3 separate regions of the Homo sapiens genome follow, and all the other regions are linked to region 3. Evidence: promoter capture Hi-C in 16 types of primary human blood cells and fetal thymus (Javierre and others, 2016). All regions are on one chromosome and are shown on one strand. Each heading gives the region's core, a stretch centred on a gene start or on the middle of the fragment in contact. The rest is flanking DNA. Distances are from core to core; before and after follow the strand shown.

The links. The method cuts DNA at HindIII sites, captures the fragments that hold promoters and counts their contacts. A CHiCAGO score of 5 or more calls a contact.
Region 1: a fragment that was not itself captured here is called in contact with the fragment with the promoter of DOC2A in region 3 in 6 of 17 cell types (megakaryocytes, endothelial precursors, erythroblasts and 3 more); the score reaches 8.0 in megakaryocytes.
Region 2: a contact is called between a fragment that was not itself captured here and the fragment with the promoter of DOC2A in region 3, in 1 of 17 cell types (M1 macrophages). The highest score is 5.5, in M1 macrophages.

The regions. Positions count from the first base shown.
Region 1 is chr16:29,901,011-29,903,710 of GRCh38, reverse strand. It overlaps ASPHD1 (aspartate beta-hydroxylase domain containing 1), which reads right to left. Exons shown (of 3, transcript NM_181718.4): 1 at 1,791-2,700. Among named protein-coding and RNA genes, the nearest start is that of ASPHD1, 1.9 kb to the right of the region's middle. RefSeq lists an enhancer at 1,498-2,202. The HindIII fragment of the contact is 353 bases long and covers 1,260-1,612 here.
Region 2 is chr16:29,939,734-29,942,433 of GRCh38, reverse strand. No RefSeq gene overlaps it. Among named protein-coding and RNA genes, the nearest start is that of KCTD13, 15 kb to the right of the region's middle. The HindIII fragment of the contact is 420 bases long and covers 1,122-1,541 here.
Region 3 is chr16:30,009,696-30,012,395 of GRCh38, reverse strand. DOC2A (double C2 domain alpha) reads left to right here and starts at 1,369. Exons shown (of 11, transcript NM_003586.3): 1 at 1,369-1,493; 2 at 2,161-2,435. The coding sequence starts at 2,174. RefSeq lists a silencer at 1,403-1,462. The HindIII fragment of the contact is 12,263 bases long and covers 1-2,700 here.

The sequences.
Region 1 (2,700 bases), core at 187-2,686, 110 kb after region 3:
CAGCACATGTGGCATCTGTCAGGATTGGCCAGAAGGTTTTCATGATTTAGAGCACAGAGAGAGGGAAGAGAGGAAGGATTGGGAACTGATCCTGAGGCTAGTGTGCCCTGAAGTGTAGGACACATCCAGCTGGCAGCACAGGAGATGATTGGGGGCAAAACAAGGTCATGGCATGGAATAACAGAAAATTATTTCCTTTTCCATTTTCTTCCAGTCTTTAAGACATCAAAAAGTGCCAGGTGCGGTGGCTCACGCCTGTAATCTCAGCACTTTGGGAGGCCAAGGCAGGAGGATCACTTGAGTTCAGGAGTTCAGGTCCAGCCTGTCTTTACACAATTTTTTTTTCTTGTTTTTGAGATGAAGTTTCGCTCTTGTTGCCCAGGCTGGAGTGCAATGTTGTGATCTCGGCTCACTGCAACCTCCGCCTCCCGAGTTCAAGTGATTCTCCTGCCTCGGCCTCCCGAGTAGCTGGGATTACAGGCATGCGACACCACACCCAGCTAATTTTCTGTAATTTTAGTAGAGACAGGATTTCTCCATGTTGGTCAGCTGGTCTCGAACTCCCAGCCTCAGGTGATCCGCCTGCCTCAGCCTCCCAAAGTGCTGGGATTACAGGCGTGAGCCACCGCGCCTGGCCTACGTAAATTTTTAAAAAATCAGCCAAGCATGGTGGTGGGCACCTGTGGTCCCAGCTACTCAGGAGGCTGAGGTGAGAGGATCCTTTGATCTCAGGAGGTTAAGGCTGTAGTGAGCCATGTTTGTGCCACTGCACTCCAGCCTGGGTGACAGAGTGAGACCCTGTCTCAAAAAAAAAAAAAAAAGAAAAAGAAAAAATCTCAGTTTGGTGCTACTGTAACTTTGACACCCCACCAACCCTTTTAAAAAAGAAGGTGTAGGGCTAGGCACGGTGGCTCATGCCTGTAATCCCAGCACTTTGGGAGGCCGAGGCGGATTGATCACGAGGTCAGGAGATGGAGACCATCCTGGCTAACATGGTGAAACCCTGTCTTCACTAAAAATACAAAATAAAAAAAAATTAGCCAGGTGTAGTGGCAGGTGCCTGTAGTCCCAGATACTCGGGAGGCTGAGGCAGGAGAATGGTATGAACCCGGGAGGTGGAGCTTGCAGTGAGCCAAGATCGTGCCACTGCACTCTCGCCTGGGCGACAGAGCGAGACTCCTCAAAAAAGAAAAAAGTGTAGGCTTCAGGATCAGAGAGACTAGAGCACTTAACTAGAATGTTCTAGACTGTTGAAAGCTTTCTTTTTTAAATTTCAGCTTGTGTTTATGAGTACTTTCTTGTCACCCAGGCTGGAGTGCAGTAGCACAATCTCAGCTCACTGCAGCCTCAAACTGCTGAGCTCCAGTGAACCTCCCACCTCACCCTCTCCAGTAGCTGGGACCATAGGCATGGGCCACCGCGCCCGGCTAATTGTTTTATTATTTGTAGAGACAAGGTCTCACTGTGTTGTCCAGGCTTTTTATGAGTACTATTTAGGGCAAGTAATACTGATAGTGCTATAAATATTTCTTTTAAATACGTAGAACAAAAGGTCGGGGGGAGAGCCAAGGTGAAGAAACGCAGTACAGATGGGAATGACCACGGCAAAGCTTATGAAGGTGGTGTGCAGATAACCGAGGCTGAGGAAATGCTGCTGTGGGTGGCAACAGGGAGCCATGGAAGAAGAGAGGCACAATGAGAACCAGACAGCAGACGGCTCTGGCGGAGAGAAGGGTCTGGGGGGGAAATCATCGAGGCAAGGAGGTTGTCAGTAGGCGGCAGCTACTTACCCAGATGGCATCTGACCCGGGCATTGGTGGGCCCACAGCGGCCCTCGAGCCGGGCCCCAGGCAGGAGAACGGAAAAGCCGGCATTGCCGAAGGTGTTGGCACTCATAAAGCTTCGAAGCCCCCTCAGTGCCCGATAGGCCCCCGGGCACCGGCGGCAGTTGCTGGGTTGGCACCGGCCTGCTTGGTACAGCAGGAGCTGGTAGCACCCGGGGGCCAGAGGTGGGGACCAGCCCCGAGGCGGAGGGGTAGTCCCTGAGAAGTCCCAGCTCACAGCCCCGAAGTCCCGCAAAATGGCAGGGAAGCTGCTCTCCAGGAGCTCCACGTCGTGCCGCTGGGCGTCCCGCGGCACAAAGGGGGCTGAAGGCAGGTCTGGTAGGAAAAGCAGGCCTGGGCGCTGAATACCTAGGACCCCTGGCCCTCTCCCAGGGCCTGGGCCACCCTGAGCTGCCCGCCTCACTCTACCCATCCCAGCCCAGGAGTAGCGCCTTGCGTAGGCCCGAAGCCGCCGGCTCACTAGGCCTTCCGTCCTAGGTCCTTCCCCGGGATCCCCAGGACCCCCTGGGCTTGGCCCGCCGGCCTCCGAGCATCCCACAGGCCCACCACGAACACCCCCAGCTCGGCTCCCAGCCCCTAGGGCCTGCATGTCTTGGGAGCCCAGGCGGTAGCAGTACCAGAGGAACAGGGAAGTGAGGGCCCCGAAGAGCAAGGTGAGGGCCGAGGAGGCCAGGGGTAGTGGCCACGGGAGCATGATCAGGGAGGCCCTGGCCAAGAGGCCTGGGGCGTCCTCCGGACCCCAGTTCCCCTGTCCCCCCAGCTCCCCACCTGTCCCTTCCATGGCTGCCCCCTGGCTCCCCGCTGGACTGTTTCCCTTCCACATTCCACTCTGGGCTGTCTCTCTCTCCTTCCGCGG
Region 2 (2,700 bases), core at 82-2,581, 70 kb after region 3:
TATTATTTTTGAGACGGAGTCTTGCTCTGTCGCCCAGGCTGGAGTGCAGTGGCACAATCTCGCCAGCCTATTATTTTTTTAAGAGATCCTTCAAAACCTGGCCTTAACTCTCCTTTCCAGCATCATCTCTCATTTTTCACTCCAGTCACATAAATGTCTCACAATTCTACCTACTCCATACCTCCATATTTTTGGCTGGTGCAGTTCTCTCTTCGGGTAACTTTCTCCCTTCTTTCTGCCTTGTACACATTTTCTCTTTCTTCAAGACCAGTCTCAAAGGTCACAGCCTCTGTAATGCCTTCCCCCACTCTCAGGATTGAGCTCCCATTCCCACTGAACCTCGGCAAGTCTCCACCTATAGTACCTAGCACCCTGCATGTAACTCTCTTGTAGAAAAAAATCCATCTCCTTTGTTTTTTATTTATTTGTTTATTTATGTACGGAATCTCCCTTTGTCTCCCAGGCTGGAGTGCAGTGGTGCAATCATAGCTCACTGCAGCCTCCACTTCCTGTGCTCAATCCATCCTCCTGCCTCAGCCTCCCAAGTAGCTGGGACTACAGGCATGTGCAATCACACTCGGCTAATTTTGAAATTTTTTGTAGAGGTGGGGTCTCACTATGTAGTTGCCCAGGTTGATCTCAAACTCCTGCCCTCAAGCAGTCCTCCCACCTTGGCCTCCCAAGATGCTGGGCCAGGTGCTGTGGTACCATGCTAGATGGTATGTCACAGGTAGTCAGCGGTTCCTGGTAGTGACTATATTCAGAATGGTAGTTAAAAGTAATCAGTTTATTCTGCAGCAAGCACAGGGACACAGGAAGACAGTCCTGACTCCAGGGGCTAGCACCTGTTGGGGATTCTGGGATGCCAGGGCTAGCTCCAGTCCTAGGGAAACTGTATTGTCAGACAGGGCAACTGAGGCAGAAACCTTGGCCAACAGCAGAGAAGAGGAAAGGCAGGGGTCTGGTGGGCATCAGGGTTTCCAGGGCTCATCTCAGTCAGTTAGAGGAAGGCAATGGCTTTTTGGAGAACAGAATGAAGGACATATTGTGTGGGAAATGTCAGGGATGCCGCAAGGGAGGTGAATTAGCGGGGTGTGAACTCCATTGCTTAGCCTAAAGCTTTTCCTGGTCTTTCCATCTTCACTGGCCAAAGCAGCTGTCATACAATTGGGTCCTTTGCTGCTATGATTCCAGGGCTGGAAGGGTCCTTAAAGATATTCCAGCCAACGCCCTGGGTGATGCTAGAATTCCTTCTAGACTTTAGGCTTGATCCACACACTCCCAGAACTAGTAAAGCTCTCAGAGACCTGGGGACCTGGTATGCAGGGCCCACTCCTGCCTTCTCTGGGGGAATTTTCCCCACCGCCTCCTTTCTTTGCCTGGTCCAAGTCCCAGCTTCCAGAAAGAGGTCCATACCTGAGATACCTCCACTTCCTCCTCCTCCAGAGCCAGCTTAAAGTCAGGAGGCGGCACAAGTCCGCGAAGCTCAGAAAGTCCCCCAGATTCCTCTGTGGTCAAGCCAGTTTCATTCAATTGAAGCTTGTTCCCTGAGGATTTGTTCATGGGGGAGTTATTGTGTACTTGATTATAGTTCCCATGGCTACTGGCTCACAGTGTGAAGGGAATGGGCATACATCCACGTCCTCCTGCAAAATTGGGATTTGACCTCATTTATAACCAAACATGCAGCAGGCAACCTTGCAAATTACACAGCATGAAGAGAGTCCAGAGAGTTCTGAATGACTTAGTAGAAAATAACATTAAATAAAATAGTACATGCGGAAGGATGTGTTCTCTCCCTGGTTCAACTTAGGTGCATAATAGCTGTTCATAGCAGTATTAACCTTGACATCCAGGAGGGAGACCATTCAACTGAAAGGTTGCAAACTGGCAACCCTCAGTGGGAATCTCACCCATAGACCTATATATCCAATTTCAGAGTACTATGGTTTGAATGAGTCCCTCAAATCTCAGGTGTTGGAAAGTTAATCCCTGATGTAATACTGTTGAGAGGTGAGATCCTTAAGAGGCAATTAGGTCAATGGATTAATGCCATTATTTCAGGAATGGGTTTGTTATAAAAGCAAATTCAGCCCCCTCTTTCTCTCTCTCATGCTCTCTTGCCACGTGATGATGTCTCACCAGAGGCAGCTCCTGTATCTTGGACTTCACAGCCTCTAGAACCATAAGCCAAATAAATGTCTATTGTTCCTAAACTACGCAGACTGTGATATTCTGTGATAGCAACATGAAGTGGACACAGAGTGTTTAAAACTTGCTTTGAGTCAACTTAAAAAAAATCAGTATCTTTCACTGAAAAAAAAAAATCCAGGCCGGGTGCAGTGACTCACACCTATAATCCCAGCACTATGGGAGGCCGAGGTGGGTGGATCACGTGAGGCCAGGAGTTCAAGACCAGCCTGGCCAATATGGTGAATCCCTGTCTCTACTAAAAATACAAAAATTAGCCAGGTGTGGTGGCAGGCACCTGTAATCCCAGCTACTTGGGAGGCTGAGGCACGAGATTCGCTTGAACCCAGGAGGCAGAGGTTGCAGTGAGCCGAGATTGTGCCACTGCACTCCAGCCTGGGTGACAGAGCAAGATCCTGTCTCCAAAACAAACAAACATCCAGATTCCAGTGTCAATGTCCTTCTGTTAAGGGCCACCAAGAACACACCTAAAAGAAAGTTTTAAAACAA
Region 3 (2,700 bases), core at 120-2,619:
TTGGGACATTAGGGACTCCCAGATGAATCAGCCGCTCCAGTGGAACTCCCTGCTGGTGGGGGAGGCACTGGCGAAGCGGTGCTGAGCCGAGTCCTGACGGCGCTGGAGCTGAGGGGCAGTGCGGGATGCCCCAGGAAGGCTCCTAGGAAGAGGGGACCCACGGTGACTTCCTAAGGAAGCGCGGTTCCCAGGTAGAGGAGCGCATGTGAGCCAAGATCCCTAGGCCTGAGCCGTCTAGGTGTGTCCCAGGAACTGCAGGAAACGGTTGGGTGAGTCAGTGGTGGGCAGCGAGGGTGATAAGCCCCTTCGTGTCTTCGGGATGGTAAGTTTGGGGCACAGGTGAGTGAAGACCGAAGGCCAGGGGTGGACTGACACTCCGTGGCAGGCGCAGGGCCGGGCAGGGGGGCGGCTTGGGGGTGGCAAGGTTTGGGTGAGAAATGGCAGCCCATGGGGAACTACCGCAGGGCTCTGAGACCTTCAGAGCCAAGCCCCGACGCCCCTTCCCACCTGCGGGGCAGAACTGGGGATGGCAGGGGGGAGGGTGGTTCCCAAAGGAGATACCATCCCTGGTAAGGGGACATGGGCCCCTGGGAGTTGGGTTGGGCCACAAGGAGAGAGGCCTGAACGGCCAAAGGGAGGGGGCGTGGGGGAAGCCGCAGCATCAGACCTCTGCCTCCTCCCTCAGATCGTGAGGCTCCCCAGCCTGGCTCGGGAGACCCCGAGATCCCCGGCCGGTGACAGCAGGCGACCCCCTGCTCCTGTCAACCTGTGGGTCCCTACGGACGTGGGGAAGGGAGGAGGGAGGCCCCAGCTCCCTGCGGGGGAGGGGCGTGAAGACGCGCGGGGGTGGGGGGAGATGAGCCGGCGTCGCCATGACAACGAGGCCGGTGGTCCGGCCTTGGGGACCCGGGAGGGAGGGAGGCGCCGTGGCCGCGCGCGCGGGCGGGGGCGGGGGGCCAGGTCTCCCAGGAGTAGTTGGGGAACACCCGGCGATTCTGGCGGCTGCTTCCTGGTGGCGCAGGGAGCCCGCGTGTTTGCGAGTGCGTGTGTGTGCGAAGTTCTCCGGGTAAGTGTGCCAGCGCGCGCCTGGGTGTGTGCAAGGGTGTGAGCGTGCACACGTGGGCACGGGCGTGTGCGCGCGGGGGTGCCCGGTTGGATGTGTGCACACGAGTGTGTGCCGGTCCGCGTGCCCCTGCGTGAGTGTGCGCGCGCGAGCACACGTGTGTGTGCGCGCTCGCGTGCGCTCCCGAGCGGGCCCCGGGTGGGAGTCCGAGATCCCGCCCCCTCCCCAGCCCCAGCGCCCCTCCCCGTCCCCCGCCGCCGCGCCGGCTGCATCCTCGCCTCCACCTCGCTCACCCCCTCCTCCCCGCACTTTCTCGGCGCTCCCTCCCTCTCGGCTCGCACAGCTCGACTCCGCGCTCTCCTCGCCGGCCGCCGCCGCCCAGCCTGCGCCCGCCGTCCCCCCAGTGCCTGGGCACCTGTTGGAGGCAGAGGCAGGTGCAGGGGGCTGGGCAGGCCGGGGGCGTGAGGGTGCGGGGAAGCGTGCCAGCCTGTGTGCGCTACGGGGGTGTTCGGCTCTCCTGCGGCTGCAATTTCTGGCTCCCCTGAGGAGCCAGAGGTGGCATCTGAGGCTGGGGTCTCCACCGTGGGCTGTGGTGAGCGAGCGGGGGAACCAGGCAGGCAGACAGGTCCTGGGGCTGAATGAGGGGACAGTGGGCAGTTGGAGCCTAGAGGGGTGGGTGACACCCTGACTAGACCAGCGCCTGGTGCAGAGGAGGACAGAGCCTCCGAGAAACAGAGGCGGGGCCCTGCAGGGCCCCTTGGGGGACAGGCAGGCTCAGGAGCAGAGGGGAGCCCCGGAGGAGAGGAAGGAGCTGGCAAGATGATACAGGGACAACCTAGAAGTGGGTGGGTGAGGACGGGGTGGTGCAACCTCGACTTCTGCAAGGAGTGGGTTGGCAGCCCAGCCCCTGTGGAGTCAGCTTGGGGTCTGCAGGGCCCAGGCCTCCCACCTGCCACCGGCTGGCACACACCACCCTCTCCCTCGACACCTAGGAAGGGAGGCCAGTGAGGGCCCCACAGACCGAGGAGGCCGTCGCCTGGCCCTCAGCCAGGATGGCTAGGTATGATGGGCTCACTGGCTCACACGCCCTCTCCTAGCCAGGGGTGCTGCATGAGGGGCCGCAGGGGCGATCGCATGACCATCAACATCCAGGAGCACATGGCCATCAACGTGTGCCCCGGGCCCATCCGGCCCATCCGCCAGATCTCTGACTACTTCCCCCGGGGACCAGGACCTGAAGGGGGCGGCGGGGGCGGCGGGGAGGCCCCCGCCCATCTGGTCCCCCTGGCTCTGGCCCCCCCTGCAGCCCTCCTTGGGGCCACCACGCCTGAGGATGGTGCGGAGGTGGACAGCTATGACTCGGATGATGCCAGTGAGTCTGGGGGCTTGGAGGCCCCATGTGCTGGTGGGGGTCTCCAGGCTTGCCGTGGTGGGGGGAGAGGGGGATGGGCCCTGCTGGCTGTGCATGTAGGTAGGGGAGGAGGGCAGTGGGGGGGTGGCAGGGACGGCCACCACAGCTGCAGTCAGCGTGGAGATTACAGCTTCAGCAAGGCTCAATATTCAGTATTTCTGCTGAGACACTCCACCACCCACACAGCCCCAGTTGCGGCCGAGCCAGGGACCCAGACGCACACACG